Linked DNA regions of Homo sapiens: region 1 is linked to region 2. The links are contacts of gene promoters, found by promoter capture Hi-C in blood cells and fetal thymus (Javierre and others, 2016). All regions are on one chromosome and are shown on one strand. The core of a region is centred on a gene start or on the middle of the fragment in contact, and the rest is flanking DNA. Distances in the headings are between cores, read along the strand shown.

Evidence for each region. The method cuts DNA at HindIII sites, captures the fragments that hold promoters and counts their contacts. A CHiCAGO score of 5 or more calls a contact.
Region 1: a contact is called between the fragment with the promoter of RPS19BP1 here and a fragment that was not itself captured in region 2, in 2 of 17 cell types (M1 macrophages and endothelial precursors). The highest score is 5.4, in M1 macrophages.

What each region holds. Positions count from the first base shown.
Region 1 is chr22:39,528,761-39,536,586 of GRCh38, reverse strand. RPS19BP1 (ribosomal protein S19 binding protein 1) reads left to right here and starts at 3,839. Exons shown (of 4, transcript NM_194326.4): 1 at 3,839-3,900; 2 at 4,064-4,192; 3 at 6,670-6,767; 4 at 6,964-7,494. The coding sequence starts at 3,849. The coding sequence ends at 7,095. RefSeq lists silencers at 1,484-1,573, 1,634-1,683, 1,549-1,843, 3,915-4,074, 4,255-4,384 and enhancers at 3,645-3,694, 3,745-3,804, 3,594-4,109, 4,110-4,625, 6,875-7,124 and 3 more. The HindIII fragment of the contact is 8,920 bases long and covers 2,891-7,826 here.
Region 2 is chr22:39,315,775-39,322,738 of GRCh38, reverse strand. It overlaps RPL3 (ribosomal protein L3), which reads left to right and starts at 3,116. Exons shown (of 10, transcript NM_000967.4): 1 at 3,116-3,144; 2 at 4,147-4,339; 3 at 5,110-5,278; 4 at 5,898-6,033. The coding sequence starts at 3,142. It overlaps SNORD139 (small nucleolar RNA, C/D box 139), which reads left to right and starts at 5,843; the gene lies at 5,843-5,897. It overlaps SNORD43 (small nucleolar RNA, C/D box 43), which reads left to right and starts at 3,626; the gene lies at 3,626-3,687. RefSeq lists enhancers at 1,459-2,347, 5,111-5,200, 5,311-5,390, 5,018-5,906, 6,301-6,350 and 4 more. The HindIII fragment of the contact is 1,782 bases long and covers 4,689-6,470 here.

The DNA of each region.
Region 1 (7,826 bases), core at 2,590-5,089, 220 kb before region 2:
CCAGGCTGTCAGGTGTTACTCCCTGTGGCCTCCAACCTAACCGTGTGTGAGCACAAGAGTGTGGAAATCCAGAGGCGACATACAAGTGCAGGTCACACCCACAGATGGGGGCCCAGGTCCCACCGGCACACTGCTGTCCACAGAGCAATCACTGATTCACAAACTAGAGTGCTTATTCTGCGTCCAACGGAATTCCAAATGCTCAACCCTCGATCCTCACAGCAGCCTTATGAGGTAGGGATTATTATCATAGTCAACTCATAAACGAAGAAACCGAGGCACAGAGAGGTTGTGGGACTTGCCCAAAGTCACACAGCTAGTAAGTGGAAAAGCCAGGATGTACAGCCTGGCTCTGGAGCAAGTGCTCCCTTCATACCACAGGAGCCAGGAGCTCCGGGCGCCTCCCGCCTCGGCCCTGTATGGAGGACTGGACAATACTCTCTAAAGCCCCCAAAACCTCGGAAGAGGAAATGGGCTAGGGGAGGGAGGGCGGCTTGCCTGTGGACACACAGCTGTGTGAGCCGAGGCCTTGTGGAAACCGGGGCATCTGTGCCAGCCCCAGACCACCAGGACACCCTCTCCAGAACTGCTCACCTCCCAGAGACCCTACGGTCCCCTCTCCAGGGGGCCACTGGTCCCTGGGGGCCACACACATACTCTTGCTTAGGACCCGGAGACCTGGGCTTGAGTCCTGACTCTGTTCTTGAAGGGCTGCACAGCCCTGCAGAAAGCCACCTGCCTCTCAGCCTCCCAGGCCCAGGGTAGTTAAGCTGTTTCACGGAGCCTGGGAGGAGACATAGGGCATGGGGGCCGAAGGGCCCTTTATGGCGATGGTTCCTCTGTGTGGCCAAAAGCCTCAGTGCGGGGATCAGGGGCAGGCAGGGACCCAGTGTGGAAACAGGCTCAGAGCAGTGAAGCCGCTCATCCAGGGTCATGCCAGGTGGGGAACTAGCCTGGGAGACCTCATGACCCGCCCTCCCACAGGGAGACAGGAAGCAGCTGCCCAACCCCCCTCCCCCTCCCCCAGCTTGACCCATCAGGGCCAACGTCAAGACTGGCAGGTCGCAGGTGCCCAAATGCGGGCTGTGGGGTGATCTGCTTGGGCCCAACAGTGGCTGCCCCTGCCCATCCCGTCTTGCCCAGAGGGAGCAGGTAGCATGGCAGCGCTGTAGCACCCTCTACACGCAGTCCCTGGGCGCAGACCCACCCAGGCCCGGCCCACACGGCACGGTATTGATCCACCGGTTCTCACACCTCTCCTAGAAGGGGGATGCTGCCCTGCCAAGCCCCATCCAACCAATGAGGAAACTGAGGCACTCTTTGTTAAGGGATTGCTGGGGTCACACAGCTCCCAGCTGTCATTTGCACACTTTTCAGGAAGGGACCTCGCCCCCCGCCCTGGGCAGCCCAGCCTGGTGGCTCTGCCTCAGCTTCCCCAGCCACTCCTCCAGGCCAGGGTGAGAGTGGGAGGGGGTGCGGGACAGCAGGAAGCCGGGGCCACACGGTGCTGGCTGCAAGGAGCCAGCCGAGGCAGAAGGACGTCCGGACCCCCACCCCCACCTAGCCCGGGTGGGCGCAGCTGAGGCCTTGGAGTCTCGCCGCGTGAGAAAGCTGTCCTGCGGCGCCACCTATTGGCAGAAATGCGCCCGGCCCCGCGGATGTGCTGATAACTCCGCGGGAGGCTGGGGCAGCGCCTGGCCTGCCGTCCCGCCCGTGCCCGGCTGGGCTGCGGACGCTGCAGGGGTCCACCTGGCACGTTGGCAGAAAACTCCTCCACCCGGGGGACCGTGGGCTGATTCAGCCTAGATCGGGAGGAGGACAGAGCTTGGTCCTTTGCCCTCCTGAGAGGCTGACTCGCTGCACATCCCACGACCTCCTGGGCCTCAACCCAGCGGCTCACTGGCGTCCCAAACTCAGCTCTCATCCACTCATTTCGTGCGTTTCTGAACTCTTACCGTATGCCAAGCACTGTTCCAGGCGCTAGGGATATAACAATGAACAAAACAAAGATCCCTGCCTTGCGGAGCTTACAGTGGGGTATGGGCGGGGAAACAGACAATACGCAATACACATAATAAGTAAGACAACAATCCGGCTATGTTAGAAGCAGGAAGGAGGCATATGTCTGAACAGTCACTGGGTTCCAGGCCCCACACTCCCCTTAGGACAAAATCATGGAGTCTGAGGCCTTTGCGACCCTCCAGCCCAGCATGGCATCCTGAAGGGCCACTCGTGTGTCACAGGGGATAGGTCCTCGCTACAGCGGTCTCCGCCTAGAACAATCCCCGCTGCCCATACATGGTCAGCTCCTCCTCACCCTCCAGGGGCCTACCTGACCCCATGGCTTGACAGGCCCCACCCAGCACCACAGCACTGCTCTCCCTGGTGGCTGGGACAGGAGCGCCCCCACAAATCCTGCGGCCAGGCTGCCAGTCTTAACTCCCACCCCTGACTCCACCCGTGTGACCTTCGCCTCTCTGTGTTTGTTTCCTCGTCTGTAAAATGCAAAAGACAATTCCTACCTGGAAGGGTAGGGGGGATAAACAAGTTAACAAATGTAAAGCACGTAGAACAGCACAAATGCTTGAGTTTGTGTTGGTTGTTATTATTACTCTCTAGCCGATGGAGCTTAAACGGTGTGGTCTATCCCGGAGGACGAACTCCAGGTCCCACACTCTGTGGTGTCAAGTACACAGAAGGCCCTCAGAACCCGGCTGAGTGAACCCAGTGGTCCCTTCTGATTCACCGTTCACTTATTGCGTGTCTTCTCCATGCCAGGTGCTGGGCTGCCAGCTGCAGATGGAGCAGCGAACAAGCCCAGGGCTCCTCCCCCAGGTAAGCAGTGTCACTTCTAGGCCAGAGGGGCTCAAATGTTTTGGTCTAAGAAGCTTCTTACATTTAAAACTTCAGAATCCCCTCACTCCTGTAATCCCAGCACTTTGGGAGGCTGAGGTGGGCGGATCACTTGAGGTCCGGAGTTCAAGACCAGCCTGGCCAACATGGCAAAACCCCGTCTCTACTAAAAATTTTTTAAAAAGAAAATTAGCCGGCCGTGGTGGCGGGCGTCTGTAATCTCAGTTACTCGGGAGGCTAAGGCAAAAGAATCGCTTGAACCCGGGAGGCGGAAGTTGCAGTGAGCCGAGATCGCTGCACTCCAGCCTGGGCGACAGAGCGAGATTCCGTCTCAAAAAAAAAATTAATTTAATTAAATAAAATAAATTTTAAAAAATTCAGGATCCCAAAGAACTTTTGTATGTAGGCAACTGATATTTGCCATACTAGAAACTAAAACAAAAATTTTACATATTCATTAATTCACTTAAAATGACAATAAACCCATTGCTTGGTAACATAAACAACGTATTTTATGAGAAATAATTGTAGTTTTCAAAACAAAGATATGTCTTTAATGTCTGGCTTAAGGGAAGACAACTGGATTCTCATGCTGCACTCAACCTGTGCGATACCTAGTGCTGGTTGAAGTATATGAAAAACACTCCGCCCTGTCCCCATCCTAGCCCGCCACGGAGCCACGAGACCCGAGAGGATTGGCCAACCCGGCGGAGCAGGTTGCGGACGGCTTCCGGGGAAGGAGGGGACTGAGCGCCAGGAGCCAGGTAGATTGGGATTGAGTAACACATGTGTCTTTCTGCGCCTTGGACCCGCCTCCAGTTTCCGCCCCTTCTTCCGCTCAAGTGTAAACCCCTAACGCATGCGTCCTAAGAAAGATGGGCACTTCCGCCCATCCCCCTCCGGATCCCTCTGTTCGGGCTCGGGTTTCCGCCGAGACGACAGGGACTGCCAGGTCGGAAGTAGTGTGAGGCTCGTGGGCGGAGCCAAGCGCCGCCATGTCCGCCGCCCTGCTGCGGCGGGGCCTGGAGCTGCTGGCGGCGTCCGAGGGTGAGGAGGGCTGGCCAGGGGACGTCCGGCGCGGGCAGGAGGATGGTAGTGGCTGCGGGCGGGAGCCCTGGATGGAAAACAATCCAGGCCGGGCTTAGCCCCAGTGGCATGGGAACGCTGCGCGCCCTCTGACCTGGGTCTCTTCCTCTCTCTTCCCCTACAGCCCCCCGGGACCCTCCAGGTCAGGCCAAGCCGAGAGGGGCTCCGGTGAAACGGCCCCGGAAGACGAAGGCAATTCAGGCCCAGAAACTGCGGAACTCGGCCAAGGGAAAGGTGCCCAAGTCGGCACTGGGTAAGTTCGGGAAGGGGCTGAAAGTGCTGCCTCCGGTGCTGGGACCTGCGCCCCAGAGGAGGTGGCGCTTGAGGCAGGGCTTGAAGCGTTCGCCCGGTATTGCTAGACCTACTGTGTGCCAGGCGCGGAGCGGGGCCCTGGACATACGAAGGTGACAGAACACGCCACCGTCCTGGTCCTCGTGGACTACGGCCCTAGTGGGGAGAGAAGCATCAAAGAATATCAAACCCAGTGTGTCATTGCTAAGTGCATTGAAGCCTATGAATTAAAAGACTACGGTACTCTGATGGGGACTTAGGCCAAGTCAGCCTTCTCTGAGGAAGCGACATTTCAGCCGAGAGCTGAAGGATGTATAAGAGTGAGCTAGGTGAAAAGTAGGAGAATATTCTAGGAAGAATAGTATGTGCAAAGGTCCTGAGTCAGAAAGGAGGTTGTTGCCTTTGAGAATTTGAAAAAATAAAGGCTGGTAAAGGTGACCTAGTGAATGAGGATCAAAGATGGAGCATTTAAACACATTCACTAACACTCTGTACCAGGTGCTGATTCTAAGTGCTGTACAAATGTAAGCTCGTTTGATCCTTACAGCAGCCCTTTGAGGTCGATACTACTATCACCCCCGTTTTACAGATTCAGAAAAAGGCACCTGCCCAGGTGGTACAGGCATTGTGGCTGCCCGGGCATTGTGTCTCCAGAGTGCTGCTATTACCTACTCCATTGAAATAGGACATGCTGTGGCCTGGGCAGTGGCTATAGCAGCAGAGATAACAAGAGAATTGTGCAGGTGGAAAATATGTTAAAGAGGGGGCAGCAGAGAATTTCAGCCTTTAGAGGGGTTTTAGTGGTGAATTGGCTGTGAAGGTGGAGCCTAGTTTCTTGGGGGACGTAGTGTCACTTAATAGACATAAAGACTTTCGGAGGGGCTGGTGTAGGCAAGATGGTGATATTTTGACATGTGTCAGGACGTGGCAAGCTCTTACTGTGTCTGAATCCCTAGAGTCTAATGCATAAAAGATGTTAAAGTATTTGTTAAAAGAATTATGAATTCCAAGGAGGAAATACAACTTAAGCCAAAGTCTGGAGGCAGGAAAGTGAGACAGGTTTGAGCCCCAGCGATACTTGCCATGAAGCAGGAGTGTGGAGTGCCAGAGGTCATTCCCATCTGTCCCAGCCCTTGTCTCACTGTCGTGTCCTGGGTGCTCACCCACCTCCCCTGTTGGATGGAAGCTCCTAAAGGCACACACCTCCTTGGGCTTGTCCGCAGCCTTGGTGTCCACCACAGGTTTTGGCACATAGATGCTGAGTGAGAGGAATGGCAAGCCTCGCAGCCAATGGAAAGAACACCTCTGCAGCTGCCACTTTGCTCCAAGCTGCATCGTCTCTTGCCTGAATTATTGCAGAAGCCTAGCCGGTCTCCTGCCTTCCACATGCCCCTCCCCCCGTAATCTTGTTCTCAACAGCAACCAAAGTGATCGTGTAAAATCAGAAGTCATTCCTTGTTTTTCCTCTGGGTGGCTCTCATTGTAGTCACTAAAAGGTGGCGGTCTTAGGGTGCCTGACAAGGGCTATATGACCTACCCCCACCCCCAGCCAAACTTGGTCTCTTCCTGCTACCCACTCCCCCTACTCCAGCTGTTTTTGTTGTTGTTTTTGGTTTGTTTTTTTTTTTTTTGAGATGGAGTCTTGCTTTGTCACCCAGGCTGGAGTACAGTGGTGCAGTCTCATCTCACTCCAACCTCTAGCCTCCCGAGTTCAAACGATGCTCCTGCCTCAGCCTCCCGAGTAGCTGGGATTACAGGTGCCCACCACCACACCCAGCTAATTTTCGTTATTTTTAATACAGACGGGGTTTCACCATGTTGGCCACGCTGATCTCGAACTCCTGACCTCAGGTGACCTGCCTGCCTCGGCCTCCCAAAGTGCTGAGATTACAGGTGTGAGCCACCGCACCCAGCCATTCCAGCTGTTTTGTGTTTTTCAAACACATTTGACACATTTCTGCTTCAGGGCCTTTGCACTGGGTGTTCCCTCTACCTAGACAAATGCTCTTTCCCCGGATATCCACAGCTCTCTTCGAGTCATTTCAGTGAGACCTTCTCATTCCCTCCTATTTGAAATTGCACCCTCCACCCCTGGAATTCCCCTTTTCTGTTTCCTCTTTTGTTTTTCTCCATGAAATGTTTGCGCTTCTAAAATACTGGGTCCTTTGTCCTTCATCTCTCACTGAAGCGAAAGCTCCAGAGTAGCTCCCTTGGTGAGTAGTATTCAGGACATAATTGTTGGAAAATGGGGGTGGGGGCCAAGAGCCTGGGGCTTTCAGCAGGACCTGTGTGGAGAATGCATTTGATGGAGAAGAGCCCAGCCGCTGTAATAACCTGGGAAGGGAACGATGAGGTCTTTGGCAGGGCCATGGGCCAGGGACTGAGAATGGTTCCAGGGGGAGTGAATCTGAAATGGTGCTCCCTGCCTGCTACCCACAGACGAGTACCGGAAGCGAGAGTGTCGAGACCACCTCAGAGTAAACCTGAAGTTTCTGACCAGGACGAGAAGCACCGTGGCTGAGTCTGTGAGCCAGCAGGTTGGTCGAGGGTACTATAGGAAGGGACCTGGGAGGTGAGAGCCGAGGCTGTTCCCCTAGGGACCCATGGCGGTCTCAGCCCTGAGCATAGGGTGGGAGGCTGGGCCAGCCCTGCCCTGCGCCGAACTCCCCTGTGACCTTTGCGGGCCTCCTCTGCTCTTGAAATGATGGGCCCTCGGTCCCGCACCCTCGCCAGATTTTGCGCCAGAACCGGGGCCGCAAGGCCTGTGACCGGCCTGTGGCCAAGACCAAGAAGAAGAAGGCTGAGGGCACCGTGTTCACCGAGGAAGACTTCCAGAAGTTCCAGCAGGAATACTTCGGCAGCTAGGCTCCCTGGAGGGCACGGTGAAGAGGCCTTCAAGCCCTGCAGCCTCCGACTCCTGCTGGCTCCAGGAACCGGCCGTGCCGCGCGGCCAGCAGATGGCGATGCAGGACCAGCCTGGCTCGAGGAAGCCGCGGAGCTGAGCCGAGTGGAGGCTGGAATGGAGCTGGTGGGCCGGAAGTCCTGGGGAGGATTTACACACAGACCGGAGCTGGCTTCCGCAGGCCTGGGCAGAGCATCTGCACCTGCCGGAAAGGAACGTATCTGTTTTGTTTGCTTTTGCCCAGGTGGGGCCTCTGGGCTGTTTGCTGTGGAGCAAGGCTAATTCCTGAGCCCTTGGGGACGACAGCTCCAGGAGTAGGAAGAAGGGTGGGCTTCCAAGTTACAATAAATGTGAACCCAAGAGCTGTGTTTGCTGCTGGTCTGCCCCACAGGGTGTCTCCCATCTCCTGTGGCACCAAAGCGCCACGCTGCCTTCCCCATCTCCCAGCGTGCTTCTGAGCTCCGGGTCACAAGTCCTCCAGTCCAGCCCCGGCAGGCAGCCATCAGAACACCCACCTCTGCTGCCAGGGGCGCCTCCCTCCTCTGGGGATGGCCACCACAGCTGAAAAGGTGACTCTTGAGGCAAAAATAGCTGCTGGGAGCAGTTCCAGTGCAGGTGGCTGGGTCCGGCAGTGGGAGTGTTGCTACTTCCGCCTGCGCCCGGGGAGCGTGGAGTCCGCCATGAGCGGAGCATT
Region 2 (6,964 bases), core at 4,330-6,829:
GCACTTTTCTTTTGAACCTTCATTACAATTTTAAATTGTCTTATTTGGTCTGTGACAGTGGCCATCTTGTTCTCTATATTCCTGCAGCCTGGTGCAGGACCCGGCACAGAGCAGGCCTCCAGTAAGAATTTCTTCTTGCTCAGGATTCCAAAGCTCCTTTTCCGATAAGGGGATTATTGATCCCTGAGTCTAATGCCGTGAAAAACCAACCTGGAGTCAGATAGACTTGAGCTCTGTCCTTCACTAATTATGTGACTTTGTCAAGTTATTAACCTCTTGGCTGGAAGTTTAGTTTTCTATGTAAAAACGGGGCAATAGGCTGGGCGCGGTGGCTCACACCTGTAATCCCAGCACTTTGGGAGGCTGAGACGGGTGGATCACGAGGTCAGGAGATCAAGACCATCCTGAATAACACAGTGAAACCCTGTCTCTACTAAAAATACCAAAAATTAGCCGGGCCTGGTGGCGGGTGCCTGTAGTCCCAGATAGTTGGGAGGCTGAGGCAGGAGAATGGCATGAACCCGGGAGGCAGAGCTTGCAGTGAGCCGAGATAGTGCCACTGTGCGCCACTGCACTCCAGCCTGGGCGATAGAGCCAGACTCCGTATCGGAAAAAAAAAAGGGCGGGGGGCAATATGGGTAGGTTATAATCCTTTGTCTGCATCCTGAAATTTTTTTTTTTTTTTTTTTTTGAGATGGAGTTTTGCTTTTCTCACCCAGGCTGGAGTGCAATGGTGCAATCTTGGCTTACTGCAACCTCCATCTCCCAGGTTCAAGCAATTCTCTTGCCTCAGCCTCCCAAGTAGCTGCGATTACAGGCGCCCACCACCACCCCTGGCTAATTTTTGTATTTTTAGTAGAGACGGGGTTTCACCATGTTGGCCAGGCTGGTCTCGAACTCCTGATCTCAGGTGAACCACCCACCTTGGCCTCCCAAAGTGCTGGGATTACAGGCATGAGCCACCACGCCTGGTCTTGTTTTTTTTTTTTTTTTTTTTTTGAGACAGAATCCTGATTGGTCACCCAGGCTGGAGCACAATGGCACGATCTCGGCTCACTGCAACCTCTGCCTCCCGGATTCAAGCAATTCTCCTCCCTCGGCCTCCGGGGTAGCTGGGACTACAGGCGTGCACAACAACTGCTAATTTTTGTATTTTTAGGAGAAACGGGGTTTCACTGTGTTGGCCAGGCTGGTCTCAAGTTCCTGACCTCCAGTGATCCACCCTCCTCAGCCTCCCATAAGTGATGGGATTACAGGTGTGAGCCACCGTGCCTGGCCTGTATCCTGAAATTTTAAAAACCTTCTTAAATTATTTGGCAGCAAAAAGTAAACTGATGCATTTTTTGAGCAGCAAAGTCAGCCTTGAACTGATGTGAGTCTATTTATATTTGTCCCACTCCATGTGAATATTCATGTTTCCTTACGGAATATTGTTTTTCTTTAAAAAGTGCTGTATTACATAATATACAGTATGTGCACCATATTACCTTTCTAAAAATCAAAAAATGCTCAATTTTGAAACATATGTGGCCCCCAGGATTTCTAATAATGGATTGAAGATCTATCACTTATGTCCTTCGGGAATGGTGTGAGGATTGAGATAATTTTTTTTTTTTTGAGCTGGATTGCACTGGCGCAATCTCAGCTCACTGCAAACTCCGTCTCCCGGGTTCAAACGATTCTCCCGCCTCAGCCTCCCAAGTAGCTGGGATTACAGACGCACACCATCGTGCCCCGCTAATTTTTGTATTTTTAATAGAGACGGGGTTTCGCCATGTTGCCCAGGCTGGTTTCGAACTCCTGACCTCAGGTGATCCGCCCGCCTCGGTCTCCCAAAGTGTTGGGATTACAGGCGTGAGCCACCGCGCCTGGCCGAGAGAATGCTTTTCAAACGACGGTGGGAGCAAAGGCCAGGCCCAGAATTAAAGAAGATGACAGGGTGGGACAGAGGAAGCAGGTGATATGAGAGCGTGTGCTCTGGCGCAGCCATGAGGCTGAAGTAGACGGTTAGGGGAGCGTCTTTGGTGGCCGCTGAAGTTGATGCTTAATTCCGAGGAAACAACGAGGCGGCCATGGAAAGTAACGAGATACTTGATTCTTAGAAAGATTTGTAGGGGGCCAGGCGCGGTGGCTCACACCTGTAATCCCAGCACTTTGGGAGGCCGAGGCGGGCGGATCACGAGATCAGGAGTTCAAGACCAGCCTGGCCAACATGGTGAAACACCGTCTCCACTAAAAATACAAAAAAAAAAAAAAAAAAAATTAGCCAGGCATGGTGGCGCATTCCTGTAATCCCAGCTACTCGGGAGGCTGAGGCAGGAGAACTGCTTGAACTGGGAACCGGTAGGCGGAGCTTGCAGTGAGCTGAGATCGCGCCACTGCGACAGAGCGAGACTCCGTCTCAAAAAAGAGATTTGTAAGGGACCAGCCTGGAAGCAGGGAATCGGTCAGGATCCGAGTCACCCTGGAGCCTAGGCAGAGATCAGCGAAAGCCCTCGCTGATGCATAGGTCTGGAAGGCGTGGGGCTCCGGGAGGCTGAGCAGCTGGACTCGGCATGACCAGAGGTCGTGAGGCCGTTCCGCAGGCTTGGGACGCTCCTGACCCTCAGAATCAAGCGCGGGCCACTGCATTAGCATGGGAGAAATGGCAGAGATAGGGCTTGAGGGAGGGATGCCCGAGATTAAAGGTATTAAAGGTAAATTGGTGTCGCCGCAAAACCAGCGTGGGAGCCAGGAAACGAGAGTTTCAGTCTTTCTTCGCTAATTCCAGAGATAGCTGCATATCACAGGAGGAGAAGCGACGCAGCCATTTTTCTTCGTTATTATCAAATTTGGCTGCTGCCGGACGCCGTAGATTTGTGGCTCACCCACCCTTAGCCCACCTCTCCGCGGCTTTTCACTAAGTTTGAACCCGACCCCTCGCCGTAGAGTGTGTAATTTCTGTCTCCGAAGCTGACGTCAACTTCTGAACGAAAGCTAGGAGCGGAAGAGCGTGCGTGGAAATGGCGCTCGGTACGTGCCCCCGACCTGTCGTCTGCCGCGGGGGCGCGCTCGCACGCCGGAAGGGGCGGGGCCAGATTTGGCTTTATATAGCGGACCCGTAAGGCCGACCGGCCTCTACCGGCGGGATTTGATGGCGTGATGGTATGTGTTGTAATGGCGGCCGTTTCATTGTCACCGGCGTCGGCACGGCTGAATCCGCGACGCATCGCCGCCATCCCGTCTTGGCCGGCGCCGGGGGTTTGCTTTAGGGGCACGGGCGACCCAGCGGGGACTTCAGTCTGGCCTATTTTCTGGAAAGTCGAGAGGCTTGTGAAGAGCGCTTGGAGGACTGGCTTTGGGCCTGCAGGTCGGCCAGAGAGAGGCCGTAAGGGTGGGAGCAGGCTTGGAGGCCCGGCGTTTTTAAAGCCATGAGTCATTTCTAAGTTTCGACCTCACCAATTCTATCATTAGTTGGGATTAGGGCCCATAACCTGCTTGTCTGGGTAGAAGGACCTTGGGTGGAGGTTCTCGGCGCCGTTCTCATTGGGAGGTAAAGAAGCTTGGGGGAGGGGAGTGTTGTGGAGTCCTCCTGAATATCTGGGGCCGCTGGTGCACTCCGAAGGCCTCTGGAGCTCGCAGAAACCACAGATGATGAACTTATTGACGGGCGGACAGAAACTGTGTGCTGATTGTCACGTTCTGATTTGGCTCTGCGGAGTTCTTTGGCCTGTGTGTATCAGTGTAATTAGTGTCCGGGCACCGGAGGCAGCCTATAGCTTAACATTGCTAGCTGCTACCCAGCGTTTGTCCCGGGAGTCCCTTTCTTTAGCGGTCAAAACCTTGCTAATTGGCATATAAAGCTGCCTGTTAAGCAGTTTTTAGTGCCACTACTTAGTGTATTTTTGTGTGGTTAGATAAAAAAAATGGGTCGTTTTCTTACAGGTTGAGAGGATTTGAAATAAGATTCAGCTTAAATTTTGTCGAATACAAAAGCATTCTTGACACGTGCGAGCCTGGAAGAGATAATGACCTTTTTATTCGGCTTGCTGGGTGTCTGGTCAGGATTCTTCAGTATTGCTGAGATTTGGAACTTAAGCAGCTGGGAACTAGAGAAGGGGGCACTGCTTTGGTTTGGGTGCTGACGGTGATTTTTTTCCCACCTAGTCTCACAGAAAGTTCTCCGCTCCCAGACATGGGTCCCTCGGCTTCCTGCCTCGGAAGCGCAGCAGCAGGCATCGTGGGAAGGTGAAGAGCTTCCCTAAGGATGACCCGTCCAAGCCGGTCCACCTCACAGCCTTCCTGGGATACAAGGCTGGCATGACTCACATCGTGCGGGAAGTCGACAGGCCGGGATCCAGTATGTACAGACATCCTAAAAGTTGGGGGAATAGGAGTGGAGGGGGAGGGAAATTGTAGAGATGGAGTCAAGCTGTTAGCAGAGGGCAGACTTTTTTTTTTAAGCAGGAGTTACACGTTGTCAGAACTGCTGCGACAGCAGAATGGGAATGCTTAACTTGAAAACTAATATTCCAAGGCTACAGATGGTCAGCACTGTTTGCTTTAGGTGCGGTGTGGGGTATTGATTTCAGAGCATAGTAAATTTGCCAGGAACCTTAGCAAAGAGAAGTTAACACTAGTGTGGGGGGTTGGAGCTGCTGAGGCTGGCATAAGAACTGCCTCATTCATGTTTTTTTCACCTGAAAGCTTGAATAATGGCCACTTACCTGTGTGTGTTCTACTTAGAGATGTCTAACAGCACTGGTTGCTGAGCCATGGAGACATTAATGTTAGGCAGTTGATACTGACTAATCTCTGAGCTCAGAGCTATTGTTAGGGCACTGAATTTTCCAGATAAATAGCAATCTTGTCTGCCTCCAGAGGTTTCTGTAGAAGAGAATTGAAGCTGGACAGGTATTTGGCTGTCTAGGGTCCTGATATTTTTTGTTTGAATAACATAAATGTGCTTTGAATGAGAGATAGGCAGTAAGGACAGCCCTGTGAGTCCGTACTGCAGGTGTGGGGCCCAGTTGCCCTTCCGGCCTAAATGGGCACTTTGCATTTTCCTAGAAAACATTACACCCCTTGCTTGGGCTCCTGCCAAGTCTGACTACTGCTTTTTTTTTGCAGAGGTGAACAAGAAGGAGGTGGTGGAGGCTGTGACCATTGTAGAGACACCACCCATGGTGGTTGTGGGCATTGTGGGCTACGTGGAAACCCCTCGAGGCCTCCGGACCTTCAAGACTGTCTTTGCTGAGCACATCAGTGATGAATGCAAGAGGCGTTTCTATAAGAATTGGTAAGGGAGGAGGCCATGCAGTCCCTAGCTTGGGAGCTTGGGAGCTGGAGAGCAGGGAGCAGCGTGTGCATGGTTTCTCAGCTCTGTAGCAGGCAGGGAGCTGCTGTCTTGGGTTTAGTTTGCCTCTCGAACAGAAAAATACCTGGGATCAGACTTGGCCAGCCATCTGGTTTCAGCCGGAAGCTAACACCCTCATTCTGAGTCCAGGCTAGTGGGTGGTGGCTGAGGACCCAGTTGGTTGAGGAGTCCAACTAGAAACCAGGAGAGGTAGCAGAATAATTAAACCCCTATAGGGGTGGCAAGGGCCTCTGGCCCTGGGTGGAATGTCCCATTTCCTTCATCACTGAGTGGGCTTCCCCAGGGCAGAAAGGTTTGTCCCGGAGCAAGAATTTTGTTTGAATGCGTGTAACTTAAATTAACCTTGTGGACCTCTGCTCAGCTCCGCTCGGCTCTGCCCGATGAGCTCCATCCAGGCTCCGCTTGCTGGTGGAAAAGGCTCCTTAGAAGCCGGCAATGAGCTCCATCCCCACGCGGTGCCAGTGTGCCTTCCGCTCACCCCTCGGAGGGGTGATGAAGGCCTGCACCTGGTCCCCTCCCCAACTCTGCTCTGCTCCTGAAGGCATAAATCTAAGAAGAAGGCCTTTACCAAGTACTGCAAGAAATGGCAGGATGAGGATGGCAAGAAGCAGCTGGAGAAGGACTTCAGCAGCATGAAGAAGTACTGCCAAGTCATCCGTGTCATTGCCCACACCCAGGTGAGCCCAGTGCCCCGGGGTGGCTTGGCCTGCCACTTAGTAGAAGTGACCTATGTGATCATGGGGGTCCCGTGCCCGCACGCTTATGGGTAGGCTTCTCCCTTGCCAGCAGAGGGCACTGTGTCCTTACTGGCCCTTAGCAAGGGAACCATTCCCCTTTAAAATTCAACTGGTGACTCACCAGTAACACTGAAATGCCTGCCTGAAAGTCGGTTGTGAGGTACTGGCTGCTCTCCTGGAAACCTAGTTGATGAGCTGAGCAGGCTTTTTATTGACTTGGTTAGAGTGGGTGCCTCTTGCTGTCCTGTTACTGGTTATCCTGGCTGATCTCAAGTGCTGAGTGCAACCCCATGTGGTGAGGGCCACCACGGATGAGAGTGCATGTCCACCGTTGAAATTTTGTCAGGACATTGCCAGGCTGTCCTTGAGTGAAAGCTTTATGCTTAAATGCATTTTTTTTTTTTTAGAGACAGAATTTCGTTCTTGTTGCCCAGGCTAGAGTGCAATAGCCCTATCTCAGCTCACTGCAACCTCCACTTTCTAGGTTCAAGCTATTCTCCTGCCTCAGCCTCCTGAGTAGCTGGGATTACAGGCATGCGCCACCACGCCCTACTAATTTTGTATTTTTAGTAGAGACGGGGTTTCTCCATGTTGGTCAGGCTGGTTTTGAACTCCTGACCTCAGGTGATCCACCTGCCTCGGCCTCCCAAAGTGCTGGGATTACAGGTGTGAGCCACCGCTCCCGGTGATGCATTTTCTTACTTAGAGCTTGTGCTCTCTCAAAAGCAGGCTTGTCACTAGGGCAAGTGTAGGTGGCTGAGGTAAAACCACTGCAGTACCCCAAAAGGAACTGACCCAAAGGACAGCCACAGGAACATTGGGCTGGTAGGGGCTGGGATCTGGTTGTTTGCCTGTGGTGTGGGTCTTGTCC